Linked DNA regions of Homo sapiens: all the other regions are linked to region 2. Evidence: promoter capture Hi-C in 16 types of primary human blood cells and fetal thymus (Javierre and others, 2016). All regions are on one chromosome and are shown on one strand. Each heading gives the region's core, a stretch centred on a gene start or on the middle of the fragment in contact. The rest is flanking DNA. Distances are from core to core; before and after follow the strand shown. Region 1 overlaps CASK (calcium/calmodulin dependent serine protein kinase). Region 2 holds the start of NYX (nyctalopin). Region 3 overlaps CASK (calcium/calmodulin dependent serine protein kinase).

Region 1 (4,905 bases), core at 315-2,814, 310 kb before region 2:
AAAATAGGGGAGGTAGTCATAATACCTATGTCGTAGACTTCTCGTGTAAACATTGAATGAGTTAATGCATATAAGGGACTTAGAAAATACCTTTCACGTAGTAAGCACTCAATAAATGCTAGCTTTAATTATTTATTACAGCAAAATAAGGTTACTTCTGTCTTTGAACTGTATATAAAATAAACCAAGCAGTTTAGGTTTGGCTACATCTGCTTCACTCAGTATTTTGTCTTCAGGATTCAGCCATATTCCTTTGTGTAGCTGTAATTAATTTCCTTTCATTGCTATATAGTATTCTATACCCATTTTATCTATTCTACTATTGATGGACATTGGGTTGTTCACAGTTTGTGACCATTGTGAACAATGCTGCTATAAACATTCAGGTACACATATCCTGGTCCACATAAGCACACATTTCTTTGAAGAGACTGTGTTTGCCCAGTATCCTCCTTTGTCATAAATCAAGCCTCTATGTATGTATGGTTATGTTTCTAGGCTCTCTGTTATGTTCTACTGTGCTGTTGTCTGTCCTAGTGTCAATATCATACACTTAATTACTGAGCTTTGTAGGACATTCCATACATAGTACCTGTGGACATGGAGGTGGGGGCTAAATTTTGAAATCAAGTACAGCAAAAACTCCAAGAGGTGTTATTCTTCCAGAATATCTTGAGTCTTCTTGGCCTTCTGCAATTCCATATACATTTTAGATTCTGCTTTAGAGTTTCCACAAAACCTGTTGGGATTTTCATTCAAATTCTGTTGAATCTATGCTTCAACTTGGAAGACATCGGCTGTTTACAATATTGAGTCTTCTTGTCAGTGAACAGGATAATTTTCTCTCCATTTATTTCATTTGTTTAATTTCTCTTAAAAAAATCATACTTTTCTCCACAGAGATCTTATATACCTTTCTTTTAGATTTATTTCTACATTCTTAAAGAAACACTCTTTTAAAATTTCATATAACTTACAATGATTTTGCTGAACTCTGCTTAGTTCTAATTTTAACTTAGATTATTTTGGATATTCTATATATACCATCTGTAATTAGTGACTGTTTCTTCCTTTTCTATTCTCATACATTTTATTTCTTTATCTTGCCTTACTGCCCTGGCTAGGACCTCCAGAATAATATTGAGTTTAAATTGTTAGAGTGGACTTTCTTGGCTTGTTCCTGATCTAAGAGTTTTTTAAGTTTTTTAATCACAAATACATAGTTTTAAGTGTTTTGACATTTATTGACCTGACCACATAATCTTTCATCTTTAATCTATCAGTGTACACAATTATATTAATTCCAAATGTTAAAAGTTTTGCATTCCTCGGGTAAACTCAATTTGGACCTGGTGTAATTCTTATATATTGCCTGTTTGGGGTTGTTAAACTTTTGTTTAGGTTACTTGCATCTATGTTCTTTAGTGAGGTTGTCTTTTAATTGTCTCATACTGTCCACAGTAGGTTTTAGTATATGGATTAAACTATTTTCATAAAGTGAGTTGGAAACTATTCCTGCTTTTTATTCTTTTATTTCTCCTTAGAATGTTCAATAGAACTTGTCAGAAATGGGCTGGGTGCAGTGGCTAACACCTGTAATCCCAGCACTTTGGGAGGCCGAGGCAGGCAGATCACGAGGTCAAGAAATCAAGACCATCCTGGCCAACATGGTGAAACCCCATCTCTACTAAAAATACAAAAATTAGCTGGGTGTGGTGGTGCACTCCTGTAGTCCCAGCTATTCAGGAGGCTGAGGCAGGAGAATCTCTTGAACGCGGGAGGTGGAGGTTGCAGTGAGCCGAGATGGCACCACTGCACTCCTGCCTGGTGACAGAGCGAGACTCCATCTCAAAAAAAAAAAAAAAAAAACTTGTCAGAAATGGCATCTAGGCCTAGAGTTTTCTGTCTCAGAAGATTAAATTACTGATTCAGTTTCTTGAATCAGTAAAGGATTATTCAAGTTTTCTAATTCTTTTTGTTAATTTTGGTGAGTTTTATTTTTCTGAGAATTTGTCGGTTTCATATACATTTTTAAATTTGTGACATAAAGTTTCAGTATCATCTTTTATTTCTGCAGCATATGAAATGATATCTCCTTCATTGTTAATACTGGGTGCTATATGTGTCTTTTCTCTTTTCTTTTTGTTATCAGTCTTGCCAGAGATTCATCATTTCACAGGGAACAACTTTTAGCTTTGTTAATTTCTTGAATATGTTTGTCTTCCATTTCATTAATTTCTGCTTCTATTTCCTTTCATCTAATTTCTTTGAATTTAATTTGATGATCTTTATGTAACTTATACAGGTAGATGTTTAGTTCTTAAATGTTTAGCCCTTCTCTTTTTTTGAGTCAGGGTCTCACTGTGTTGTCCAGGCTGGAGTGTAGTGGTGCAGTCATGGCTCACTGCAGCCTTGACCTTCCAGGCTCAAGCAATTTGGCCGTCTCAGCCTCCTGAGTAGCTGAGACAACAGGCCCCTCCATGCCCAGCTAATATTTTTATTATTATTATTTGAAGAGATGGGGGTCTCACTATATTGCCCAGGCTGGTCTCGAACTCCTGGGCTCAAGTGATCCTCCCACCTCAGCCTCCCAGAGTGCTGGGATTACAGGTGTGAGGCACTGCACTTGGCCAGCCTTTCTTTTCTAATATGTACATTTATAGCAGTAAATTTCCCTCTAAGTACTGCTTTACCTACATTTTACAAGTTTTGATGTGTTTACTGTTATTATTATTCAGTTTAAAATATTTTCTAATGATTTATTCTGAGATACATGTAATAAAAGTATATTGTCTAGTTTCCAAATGTTAGGAATTTTCTAGATTTATTAATTGCTTTAAAATTTATTTATTTACTTTTTTAGAGATGAGGTCTTGCTCCATAGCCCAGGTTGGAGTGCAGTGGTGCCATTATAGCTCACTGCAGCCTCAAACTCCTGGATTCAATCAAGCCTTCCACCTCTGCCTCTGGAGTATCTGGGACTACAGGCATGTGCTGCCATGCCCAGCTAATTTTTAAATTTTTAGTAGAGAAGGAGTCTCACTGTGTTGCCCAGGCTGATATCGAACTCCTGGCCTCAAATGATCCTCTCACCTTGGCCTCCCAAAGTGCTGGGATTATAGGCATGAGCCATTGCACCTGGCCTTTATTAATCATTTCAGAGAATCTATTTGTTGCTTTGCTTTTTCTCTATTTTGTCTCTTTACTTCATTAATTTCTGCTTATTATTTCCTTCTACCTTCATTGGGTTTAATTTGCTGTTTTTTAAAACATGTCTCATGATGAGATGTCACTGACTTGGTAACTTTTCATATTTTCTAATATTTTAAGTCAGCATTCACAATATTTCTATTAAATTTCTAATTAAAGTTTTAAAACAAGTTTATGGATACAAACTACTTTGTAAGTACCATTTCATCTGCATTCTGCTTTTTTTTTTTAACAGAACTGATTTCCTATGACAAAAGTATAGTGCCTATTCATTTTTTTAAAAGTAAAGGTAAAAAGAAGAAAACAAAAAATTTCAAATAGAATTCTACCCAGTCTTTAACACCCCATTTTAATAGCAAAGGCTTCACACTGCATCTACTTATACATAAATATGCATATATATGTTTATACATGTTAATGTATTATGAACATCTATGTCAATAAATATATGTCTATAACATCATTTAATGGCAATATAATATTCTACTCTAGTTACCACAATTTATGTAACCATTCTGTTGGGAATTTAGGTTGCTTCTAATTTCTCCCTATTATAAATAGCTGTGATAAACCCTTGTCATTAAAACTTGACCAGTATTCCTAATTATTTCCCTTGGAAGGAAATAATTGAGCCGAAGGACATATACATGTTTAAGGTTTTTGTCACACATTATAAAATTGCCCTTCAGAAAGTTGTATTGGTGTATTGTTCTATCAATAGTAGATTACCTACTTTAAGCAAGGTTTCTCCAGTGCCAAGTTGTGTATGTAACATGGATCACCAGCTTCTTAACCTGTAAGATTGGACCTATGCCCCTCCTCCTTTCAGCCATTTTTCTATATTTGTGGGTCTATTAATGGCAAAACCCTGATCTTGAAATGTAACGTACCAATCCTGTACAAGTTTTGATAGTACTCTTTTCATTATCATTGTTAGGAATATGTTCTGCTGGGCATGGTGGCTCATGCCTGTAATCCCAGCATTTTGGGAGGCCGAGGCAGAGGGGATCACTTGAGGCCAGGAACTCAAGACCAGTCTGGCCAACACAGAAAAACCCTATCTCTACTAAAAATACAGAAATTAGCTGGACGTGAGGTGTGCGCCTGTAATCCCAGCTACTCGGGAGGCTGACGCAGAAGAATAACTTGACCCTGGGAGGTGGATGCTGCAGTGAGCCAAGATCATGCCATTGCACTCCAGCCTGGGCAACAGAGCAAGACCCTGTCTTGGAAAAAAAAAAAAAGTTCTAATTTTCATTATGATGATTTCTTATTTGATTAATTGGCTATTTAGCATGATTTCTCAATTTCCAAGCATTTAGGGTTTTCTAGTTATTTTGTTAATTTATTTCTAACATAACTACTTTGTGGTTAGGAAACATACTCTGAGTACTCGTTTCTTGCAGAAGTTTTTAGACTGAGCTTTTATCTCCATAGTAAGCATTGAGGTTTTTGGGGTGTTTTTTTTTTGTGTTTTTTTTTTTGGTGGGTGGGGATGGGGTCTTGCTCTGTTGCCCAGGCTGGAGTGCACTGACAGAGTCATGGCTCACTGCAACCTCAATCTCCTGGGCTCAAGCGATCCTCCCACCTCAGCCTCTTGAGTAGCTGGGACCACAGGTGTGTACCACCACACCCAGCTAATTTTTTTTTATTTTTTGTAGAGACAGCATCTCACTCTTTTGCCCAGGCTGGTCT
Region 2 (4,500 bases), core at 1,188-3,687:
TCCAACTTGTCACAAGAAGTCTGGATATATTTCGGGTTTCTGTAGCAGGGACAGTTCCTGTTTTGAAGTGTGCAGGCTATGAATACGGTCTGCTTTCTGTGAGGAACGGTAGAGCTTTTGGTGCACGTTTAAAATGATACTGGCTGTTGGAAGCAAACATTGTGCCCCAATGAGTCAATCAAGTTTCATTTTTTTTTCAAGGTAGGAGGAATGGCAAGAAGTTGACTGTTAGTAATTATATAAATATCAACCTCTGTTCTTTAGAACCTCTTCGAGGTAGGAAGTCATGTCCTATTTATCACAGTGTTCCACGTGCCTTGCTCCAATTTTTTTTATTGCTTATTTATTGAATCTCTTATAAAAGAATTTTCTCAAAGACAAAGAGCATGCTATTATATCCCTCATAAATATCTCTCGAGCGTTTTGAAGGCACACAGTGTATGCCTGTTGGTTGACTGAACAGAGCAAGTTCCGGTTTTTGAAAAGGTGGAATAAAGAGGAAGAAAACTCCATTACTCCTGTTTTAGATGATCTGGTAAAATGTTCTCTATCAGCATCGCATACAGAGGTCTATTACATAGATCATCATATCTCAAATAATTAAATTCACTTGAGGGTCAGAAAAAAACAGATTCTTTGTGTAGAATCATTTACTGAAGAATTTAAAGGATTTTTCCTTGGGCTATCTCAGTCAGATTGGAACAGCTAGAGCCAGGGAAAATATTTCATAACGAGTCTTCTTGGTATATTAAAGTGCACATAACAGAGCGAGAAACTTTGAAAAATAACTTCAATATCCATAATCCTATAATTCCAAGGCATTTTTCATTTTTTCTTTTTCCTTTAGGAAGGTGGTTTTTTAAAGGGACTTTTGTTTTTAACTAAATGAGCTTAAAATAATGTGATTAGAAACCACTGTAGGCTGGGCACGGTGGTTCATGCCTGCAATCCCAGCACTTTGGGAGGCCGAGACAGGCAGATCACCTGAGGTCAGGAGTTCAAGACCAGCCTGGGCAATATGGCGAAACCCCGTCTTTACTAACAATACAAAAAATTAGCTGGGCGTGGTGGCAGGTGCCTATAGTTCCAGCTACTCAGGAGGCTGAGGCACGAGAATCACTTGAACCCGGGAGGCGGAGGTTGCAGTGAGCCAAGATCCATGCCACTGCTCCCCAGCTTGGGCGAGAGTGAGACTCTGTCTCAAAAAAAAAAAAAAAGAAAAGAAAAGAAAAGAAAAAACCACCGTACGGTGGCTCACGCCTGTAATCCCAGCACTTTGGGAGGCCGAGGCGGGCAGATCACGAGGTCAGGAGATCGAGACCATCCTGGCTAACATGGTGAAACCCCGTCTCTACTAAAAATACAAAAAATTAGCCAGGCGTGGTGGCGGGCACCTGTACTCCCAGCTACTCGGGAGGCTGAGGCAGGAGAATGGCGTGAACCCGGGAGGCGGAGCTTGCAGTGTGCCGAGGTCGCACCACTGTACTCCAGCCTGGGTGACAGAGCGAGACTCCATCTCCAAAAACAAAACAAAACAAAAAAACACTGTAGCACTGTAGCTTTTGGTTATCACACCAATGAATTCATATCTGAAATTAGAATAAGAAAATCACCAAGAGGACTATTTCATATATTCGGCTCAGGAGTTTTGTTTTTAGGAAACAAAAATCCCCACCACCTGCTGTTTTCTTGCTTTCTCTATCCCCTCCCCCACGATCACAGGGTCAGTGAAACCTGATCAGAAGTGTCCAGATACCGCTGTCCCAGAAGCCACTTTAAAGACTCTTTGGGCAGAAGCTCTGTGGCTTCCACCCCTCTTCCCAACCCTTGCACCCACCGGCAGGAGAACTCACCATGCAGAAGCAGGACCAACATCCCTCGGCCTTTCATCCACCCAGTGGCTTAGGACCACCCAGCCGTGGGACCCCTACCTGAGGGGAGAAAGGACAGGTCACCCAGTGCCCAGGAGGGCCCCATGAGAACCCTCCCATGCCTCCACACTTCTTCCTGAATGCCCTGCCTTTCTTTCTTCCTCACATTCCTTCCTTCTTAATGACCCTGGTGTTGGGCTAAGGGAAACCAGTAACAACAGAAAATCAGAAGCTCCCCACAAATGGACAGTTTGGATCTATTAGGAAACCCTTTGTCAGGCTACAGCCCTGACAGCAACTCAGATGGCATCACTGACAACCCAGCAAGGAAATGGATGGAGAGGAAACCCCTGCAGAGAAGCGTTAGTGAATGGTCCTCAAATGTTGCTTACCGTCCTGGGAGTCTCCCTGGTCCTGCTCCTCTGAGGTCCCCCTCCACTCCCTCAGCCCATCCATCTCCCAAGTCAGGCAGCCACAGATGCTGAAAATGGTTTGAGAGAGAAGTAAAGGTGGGGGTGGGGGGACGGGAGGAAGGGGTGAAGAGGAATAGTTACTTGTGCAGGTTTGAGTGCTTATTTTTCTTTCTCCAGATTTAATGGCAGGAAAATCCTCTGTATCACATGAGGATTAACAGAGATGAAAGAATGTGTCTGCCTTTCGAATCACTAAAGCCAGTGACAGATTTTGCTGACATACCAATCGGCTTTATCCCCGGGCCTTGACCACCCTGGCCCTCCTGTCCTCTCTCCATCTGCCTGGCCCCTTTCTCTCCTTAAACCTTCCCCAGACCCTGCCCCGTTCCCTGACCCCAGCCCCAGCCCCAAGCAATATGTAGCCTGAAATTGGCTTCCTGCCACCCAAACAGCATTATCAGCATTTTCAACAAGGACGCATTATATAACTTGGAGAGCTGGAGAAGGGACAGGACAGCTTAAAATGTTTCCCCAAAATGCCGGCTGCTGATTTCCTTTCTTTGAAGTGGTTGATGGTGAATGATACAAAAACGGACTGGAGAGAGTCCTTCCACTACAAGAAGGCAAGAGGTTCCCACTGGGGTTAGGGCTGGTAGTGGTGGCCTAAGGCAGTGGGTCCAGGAATGGGACCTTCAGAATCTGGCTGAGGTTTCTGAAACCCACCAGGACTCAGTTTAGGCCCTGGCTACTCAGTGTGGCCGGTGGACCAGCAGCAGTACCTGAGAGCTCGTTAGGAAAACAGAATCTCAGCGCCTTCTACCCCCCGCCCCAGACCTGTTGAATCAGCATCTGCTTTTTTTTTTTTTTTTTTTTTTTTGAGATGGAGTCTCACTCTGTCGCCCAGGCTGGAGTGCAGTGGCACAATCTTGGCTCACTGCAACCTCCACCTTCTGGGTTCAAGCGATTCCCCTGCCTCAGCTTCCTGAGTAGCTGGGACTACACCATGCCCAGCTAATTTTTTGTATTTTTAGTAGAGACGGGGTTTCACCATGTTGACCAGGATGGTCTTGATCTCTTGACCTTGTGATCCACCCGCCTCGGCCTCCCAGAGTGCTGGGATTACAGGCGTGAACCACCGCGCCCGGCCAGCATCTGCATTTTAACTAGGTCGGCGGAGAGGGGGATTCCTGTGCCCGGTAAAGTTTGGAAAGCCCTGTTTTAGGAGACTGGTGGAGGGGGTCTGATCAAAATGAGGGTGGCAGGGGGGCCTGTTTATCTAGCCTTTCTGGCCAGCAGTTCAGGTGCCCCCACATTCTCCTGGCCCCAGCAAGCCTCTGCTGTCTGCTGGGACAGCACTTCCAGGTATCCATGGCAACCTGCCAAGTTCTGGCCACGCAGGACTTGGTGAGCCAGTGCTGATGAAAGGAAGCCAGGAGTTCCCTTCCCACAGAAAGGGTTCTGGATGTGAATCTAGACATCTCAGGCCACCGTGCCCTGGGGAATTTTTGTTTTCTTCCATTTGAGCCTTGAAAGCCAAAATGTGGCTGAACTTGTCTAACCTGCTGGAAAGAAGAGAATACTAGGGATGGGGTAGGGATGTGGGTGGGGGAGGCCTCTCAAATGACATCTCTATCCCCAGTGTTGGACTCGCCTGGCTTATTAGATGAGAGCAGTGGGCAGCCCTCTCATTGTGACCACCAGTGTCGGAGGTGTCCCTGTAGCCATCACCCCAAGCCTTAGCCCAACGAAGCCCCCACTCCCCCAGCAGCAGTCCAGAGGCTGAATCTCGACTGTAAGAGCCAACCTGTCTGCACCCACAACCTTTGTTCGCAGCTTATTGGTCCAACCTTCCCTTCAATCTTCTCCAGGCCAGTGGGCCTGGTGCTCTGGCACTGGGATCCCACTAAGGAAGACCTTCTTCTCCACCTGTGAACTGAAACATTTCTCCCAAGTGGAAAATAAGGAGGCATCAGAGACTCTTGGCATAAAAAGGAAGGAGCCCATCCACCAGGTGAGCTGGTACCACCGACTTGGGAGGATGAGCAGCCCTTAATCAAAACCTTGCTGCAGGGAGAAAAGCAGGTGGCCCAGGGTTGTTACAGGAAATGCGATTGACTGACTTCCCCTGGGAGAAACTTAAAGCTCAAGACAGGAGAAAGGCCGGCCCTTTCAGAGCCTACTCCAGCCACTCGTGGGCTGCTGGGGGAGGGATTTTT
Region 3 (4,887 bases), core at 482-2,981, 260 kb before region 2:
GATTAACCTGCCTCAACACTGCTCCAAGTAATTGTTGGTCAGCTTTCTCATTGTAATCTCTTCCTCTCATTTTTTCAATTTCTCCTAACTGGGATAAATACACCAAACCTGTTTGGATCCTCTTACCGTTAGGAGAACAGCAGAATCTCCCTACCAACCTTCTATAGTGATGACCTTTGTTTTAACCCCATCGATTTCCACTTTATTCATCCCATTTTTTAATAGCCCTCTAAAGACTCTACCCTGCTTAGATGAGTCCCATGACTCTCCTTTCTTTTTCCTCTTAGTTTCACCCCATCAATGTTTTCTTCATTCACCTTATTTCTCAATAACCATTTAGACTTTCCACCTTCCTGGGATGAGTCCTGTGACTCTCCCCTCTGCCTTTCCCCAGTCTCTTGTTAATTACGCTCATGTTTTCATTGGTGCCCATACAAAAGAGGCTCCCTTAGCCATAGCATTTACTACAGCCAGAGTAATGGATGTATTCAGTGAGTGAATATCTCAGTCATCATAAAGCCAGTCCCACATGGTCTACATAGGAAGCAAATGAGCTGCTGCTTCAGGGTACACCACTTGGCATTTATAGGTGAAATTGGACAGTCCCCTTCTCAGGGTAAACAGGTCCAGTCCACCACGCTGGCCATTCCCTTGGAAATAACCTCCTGTGTGTCTGGAAATCTACCTTTCCATCTGTGATTGTTCAATAATGAACTGCAGGTCCTACCTCAACCAAACATGCTCTTCCACTCTTGAGCATTTAAAACCAAAGAAACTGCTCTGACAGTTCCTTCACAGTATACCCTCCAGTTTCAATAGTTTATCAGTTTTACCCTTTCCCCACATTGACTACCCTTCTTGATAACCACAGGTTGTGTAACTGTCCAGTGGGTTCATCTTGCCCGCTGTCTAGACAGAGCTGATTTATCAATACAGGGAAATTGCAATAGAAAAAAAGTAATTCACGCAGAACCAGCCGTGCAGGAGAGCGGAGTTTTATTATTACTCACATCAGTCTCCCAGAAGACTCGGGGATCAGAGATTTTAAGGATAATTTGGTGGGTAGTGGGCTGTGAATCAGGAGTGCTGATTGGTTGGCTCTGGAATGAAATCATAGGGAGTCAAAGCTGTCCTCTCATGCTGATTCAGTTCCTGGGTAGGGGGCCACAGAACTGGTTGGCAGGTCCAGGTGGGGCCATCCAGTTGTTAGAAATGCAAATACCTGAAAAGATATCTCAAAAGGCCAATCTTAGGTTCACGATAGTGATGTAAGTTGCAAATCTTATGACCTCCAGAATAATGGCTGGTAACATTTAGAATTCCAGCCCCTCTCATCCGTACTTGGTGGCTGGTGGCCTTTCATTCGTTTTACAAGAACAGTTTAGCTTTTGGGAAGGGCTATTATTTAAACTATAAATTAAATTCCTTCCCAAGGCTAGTTTGGCCTATGCCCAGTAATGGACAAGGACAGTTTAGAGGTTAGAAGCAAGATGGAGTTGGTTAGGTCTGATATTTTTCACTGTCATAATTTCCTTAGTTACAGTTTTGCAAAGGCAGTTTCAATCGTAAAGGTACTTCAGTGTCCTTGCATAATTTTTCCTTGGGGGTCAGCTTTGAGGCTAGTGGCCTGGGCTCAGACAGACAAAGTCTAACCTAGCATTCTCCTTTAATTTCATTTAGCTATTAGAGATAAACACCAAAGAATTTAGTATTTCACTTTTTCATATTAGTCTGCATACCCTCATGCAACCAGTGAACCAACTCCCCGGGAGTTGCATCCATCTCTGAATTCCACCAGTAACTTTTACCTTTAGTAGCTGATTGCAGCACAGCTGCAGCTCAAAACAGTGGGAAACCACATGGCCACCCAGGAATCAAAGATTCCTCATCTCCCACCTTTTTGACGCAGGATTTTTCTTGGCCACTTTGCCAATCAGGGACCTCCATGGCCAGCAACGCCCCCCTACCTGGCCTTTGCTTGGCCATGGGCCTGCTGAGGCGTCAGGCCCACTCACCCCACCTGTGCTATGGCTTGTACCTGCGTTCAGCAGTTCCCAAGCTCCTGTCCTTATCCACGAAGAATGAGGATACGCTGACAATTTGAAGGGTGAGGATGGGTAGGGAAGAATTTTATTGAGCAGCAGAACAGCTTTCAGCAGAGAGGGGACACGGGTGGCCCCCCCACCCCTGCAGTCGGGTGGTTTGTCTCTCTCAGTGTGGCTGGGTCCATGGTATTTTATGGATTCAGAATGGGGCATGTGTGCTGATTGGTTTGTGAGTATGCAGAAAAGGTTAAAGCGAAGACACCACTCAAAGGTGGGCACAACAGTGTAGAAAACCAATTAGGGAAGGGTAGGTATATGTAAAATAGGTGAGGGGCGGGGATCAATCAGAGGAAAGCACACCAAACAGGAAGACAGGTTCTCAATCCAGTCCATGGATTTACCCGGGACATGTAGGTAGGCTTTAAACTGTCTTCAGCTTGAAGGTCAATTTCACTGAGGACTCGCCCCTATCTGTCTAGGCATTTTGTCTGCCTCCTGCTGCTGTCACTTTCATTCTTTCTCTTCCCAAACCACATGTTTCTGTGAGCCAAGTCCATTCTAGCAAACCCTACCTCACTGAAACCAATTCATAGTTTGGAAGGAAAACAAAACTCACAAAGTACTTTTCTACTCTTTCAACAACAATTAACACAGATGATTTCTGTGACCAAATGTGTGGGGATTTCTCCCCAACCAACAAGCAAGCAAGCAATTCTGCAGTTGACACCAGCTAGGTGTCCTCTAATTCAGTTATGTTCTGACACTATGTACCTAGAGATAGCATCAGATTCCACAGGTTGAGGGCTTAGTCCCCAAGACTGGCCCCCACCTTTAGATGCCAATGGCTAGCCCCAGGCTGTGTCACCTATGCTTCTGACTGACTAGCTATAAATCAGGGATCCCACGGCTCCCTCTTTGGGCCCAATTAATTTGCTAGAGCGCCTCACAGAACTCAGGGAACCAGTTACATATACCCGTTTATTATAAAGGATACAGATGAAAAGATGCATAATCCTGGGGCACGGAGCTTTCCTGTCCTCTCTGGACAGAGGCACCACCATCTGGGAAACTCCACAAGTTCAGCTATCCAGAAACTCTCCGAACACTGTCCTTTTGCGGTTTTATGGAGGCTTCATTATGTAGGCATGATTGGTTAAACGATTGGCCATTGGAGATTAATTTAACCTTCAGCCCCTCTCCCCTCCTTGGAGGTTGGGGATGGGGCTTAATGTCCCAACCCTCTAATCCTGCCTAGTCTTTCAAGGCTACCAGCCTCATCCTGAAACTACCTAAGGGTTCCAGCCATCAGTCAACCATTAGCATACAAAAAGACATCATTCTGGAGTTTCTAAGGATTTTAGCAGTTGTATGCCTGGAAAGAGGGTTGAAGACCAAATATATATTTTATAGTATCACAGACCTGATCATCAAAGTTTCACTATCCTTCAGCTTTGGCTTTTGGCTTTTCATATAAGCTTGAGTGTGCTGGCTAAACATTGTCTTTTAGGAATGCACAGCATAGAAACTCTAGCGACTTCAGTGGCAGTCATAAGAACTGGAATCATTTCAGGGGTGGTAGTTGAAAAGCAGACAGGAAATTAGCAGGTTTAGAATAGGGGAGAAACTTTAGCATTGAATTACGTGAGGCAAAAATATATTTGAGGGACAAATTTTGAATTTTGACATCTTCAAATCAGTCAAACTTGGTTCATATTATGCTTCAGAACTAACCATTCTTTTCTGTAGATTCTTTAAAAAGCCAAAAGTAGATAAAGATTTCTATGAATAAAGCAGTTGAGGATAGAATTCCAAAAATAATGCTGTTCCATTGTATCACCCCAGGTACAAAACACACACACACACACACACACACACACACACACACACACACACACACACAAAATCTATACCCTGGGAAACAGTGACTTGGATTGCAGTGAGATTTAGCGAATTTAAAAGGCATCATATATCAGTGCCCAGAATTCTCCACTTCACTGTCTCTTTCTAGGGCCAAGGTTTCCTGGCCATTTTATTACCAATCACTTCTTTTGAATTTCTAGATACAATTGTCTTAAGGTGAAGTCCCCTGCTCCATGTAACTTCCTGTCCTTAATCAAGGGGAAAAAAAGAGATAGATGTCAAGGGAAGAGAAAGAAGAATTGAATATCTCATGTCTTCCCTCCTATACCCATTAGTGTCTGTATTCATTTTCTCTTAAGCGCCCCAAGCATGAAAGTCACAGGTTTCTCTGAGAACCACATTTAGAAAATTAATAATAATAAGTGACAGCCACTGATCTGCTTTTATATATATATTCATATAATTTTAGAAATATCTCTGAGATAGATTCTATTATTACTGTCACTTTCTAGATGATGGATGTGGGTCCACAGAGGATAACTTGCCTACAGTGATAAAACTGCTCTATTATAAGGTCTAGATTTGAACCCAGATAGTCTGACTTTAGAGCCCACATTCTTTACTGTTTTATATGGACTCTCATAATATATGATAATACTCAATAGAATCTAGTTTATTGCTTTAAATAAGGAGACCAGCTATCCCCAATGACCAAAAATATATCTCATTTATGTACTTGTTTCCAATTTTCAATCTCGAGATTTATTAACTCCTGCCAACTCTCCACTGTAAAGGTACCCTGTTTTCATTGTAATTGATAAGTAATCTGAAGGTGATATTTTAAGACTCTATGAGTATACTGTGTTTCCCTTTCACCCACTGGATTTTGACATTCTTCGATGATTCTCTTCTTGCCTAAATCAGCTGTTTCCTTGGTGGTGGCATCTTGGTAATCTTTTGGTGAATGGATATATTAGATTTG

Evidence for each region. Contacts are between HindIII fragments. The CHiCAGO score rates a contact against its expected background, and 5 or more counts as called.
Region 1: a fragment that was not itself captured here is called in contact with the fragment with the promoter of NYX in region 2 in 1 of 17 cell types (neutrophils); the score reaches 7.1 in neutrophils.
Region 3: a contact is called between a fragment that was not itself captured here and the fragment with the promoter of NYX in region 2, in 1 of 17 cell types (neutrophils). The highest score is 6.0, in neutrophils.

The regions. Positions count from the first base shown.
Region 1 is chrX:41,751,843-41,756,747 of GRCh38, reverse strand. All of the region lies in intron 3 of CASK (calcium/calmodulin dependent serine protein kinase), which reads left to right. Among named protein-coding and RNA genes, the nearest start is that of GPR82, 30 kb to the right of the region's middle. The HindIII fragment of the contact is 7,541 bases long and covers 1-4,905 here.
Region 2 is chrX:41,445,280-41,449,779 of GRCh38, reverse strand. It overlaps NYX (nyctalopin), which reads right to left and starts at 2,437. Exons shown (of 3, transcript NM_001378477.3): 1 at 2,264-2,437; 2 at 1,854-1,931. The coding sequence starts at 1,875. RefSeq lists enhancers at 4,312-4,361, 4,482-4,500. The HindIII fragment of the contact is 20,707 bases long and covers 1-4,500 here.
Region 3 is chrX:41,709,140-41,714,026 of GRCh38, reverse strand. The region is part of intron 5 of CASK (calcium/calmodulin dependent serine protein kinase); the gene reads left to right. Among named protein-coding and RNA genes, the nearest start is that of GPR82, 13 kb to the left of the region's middle. RefSeq lists enhancers at 1,515-2,015, 2,016-2,516. The HindIII fragment of the contact is 3,582 bases long and covers 1-3,522 here.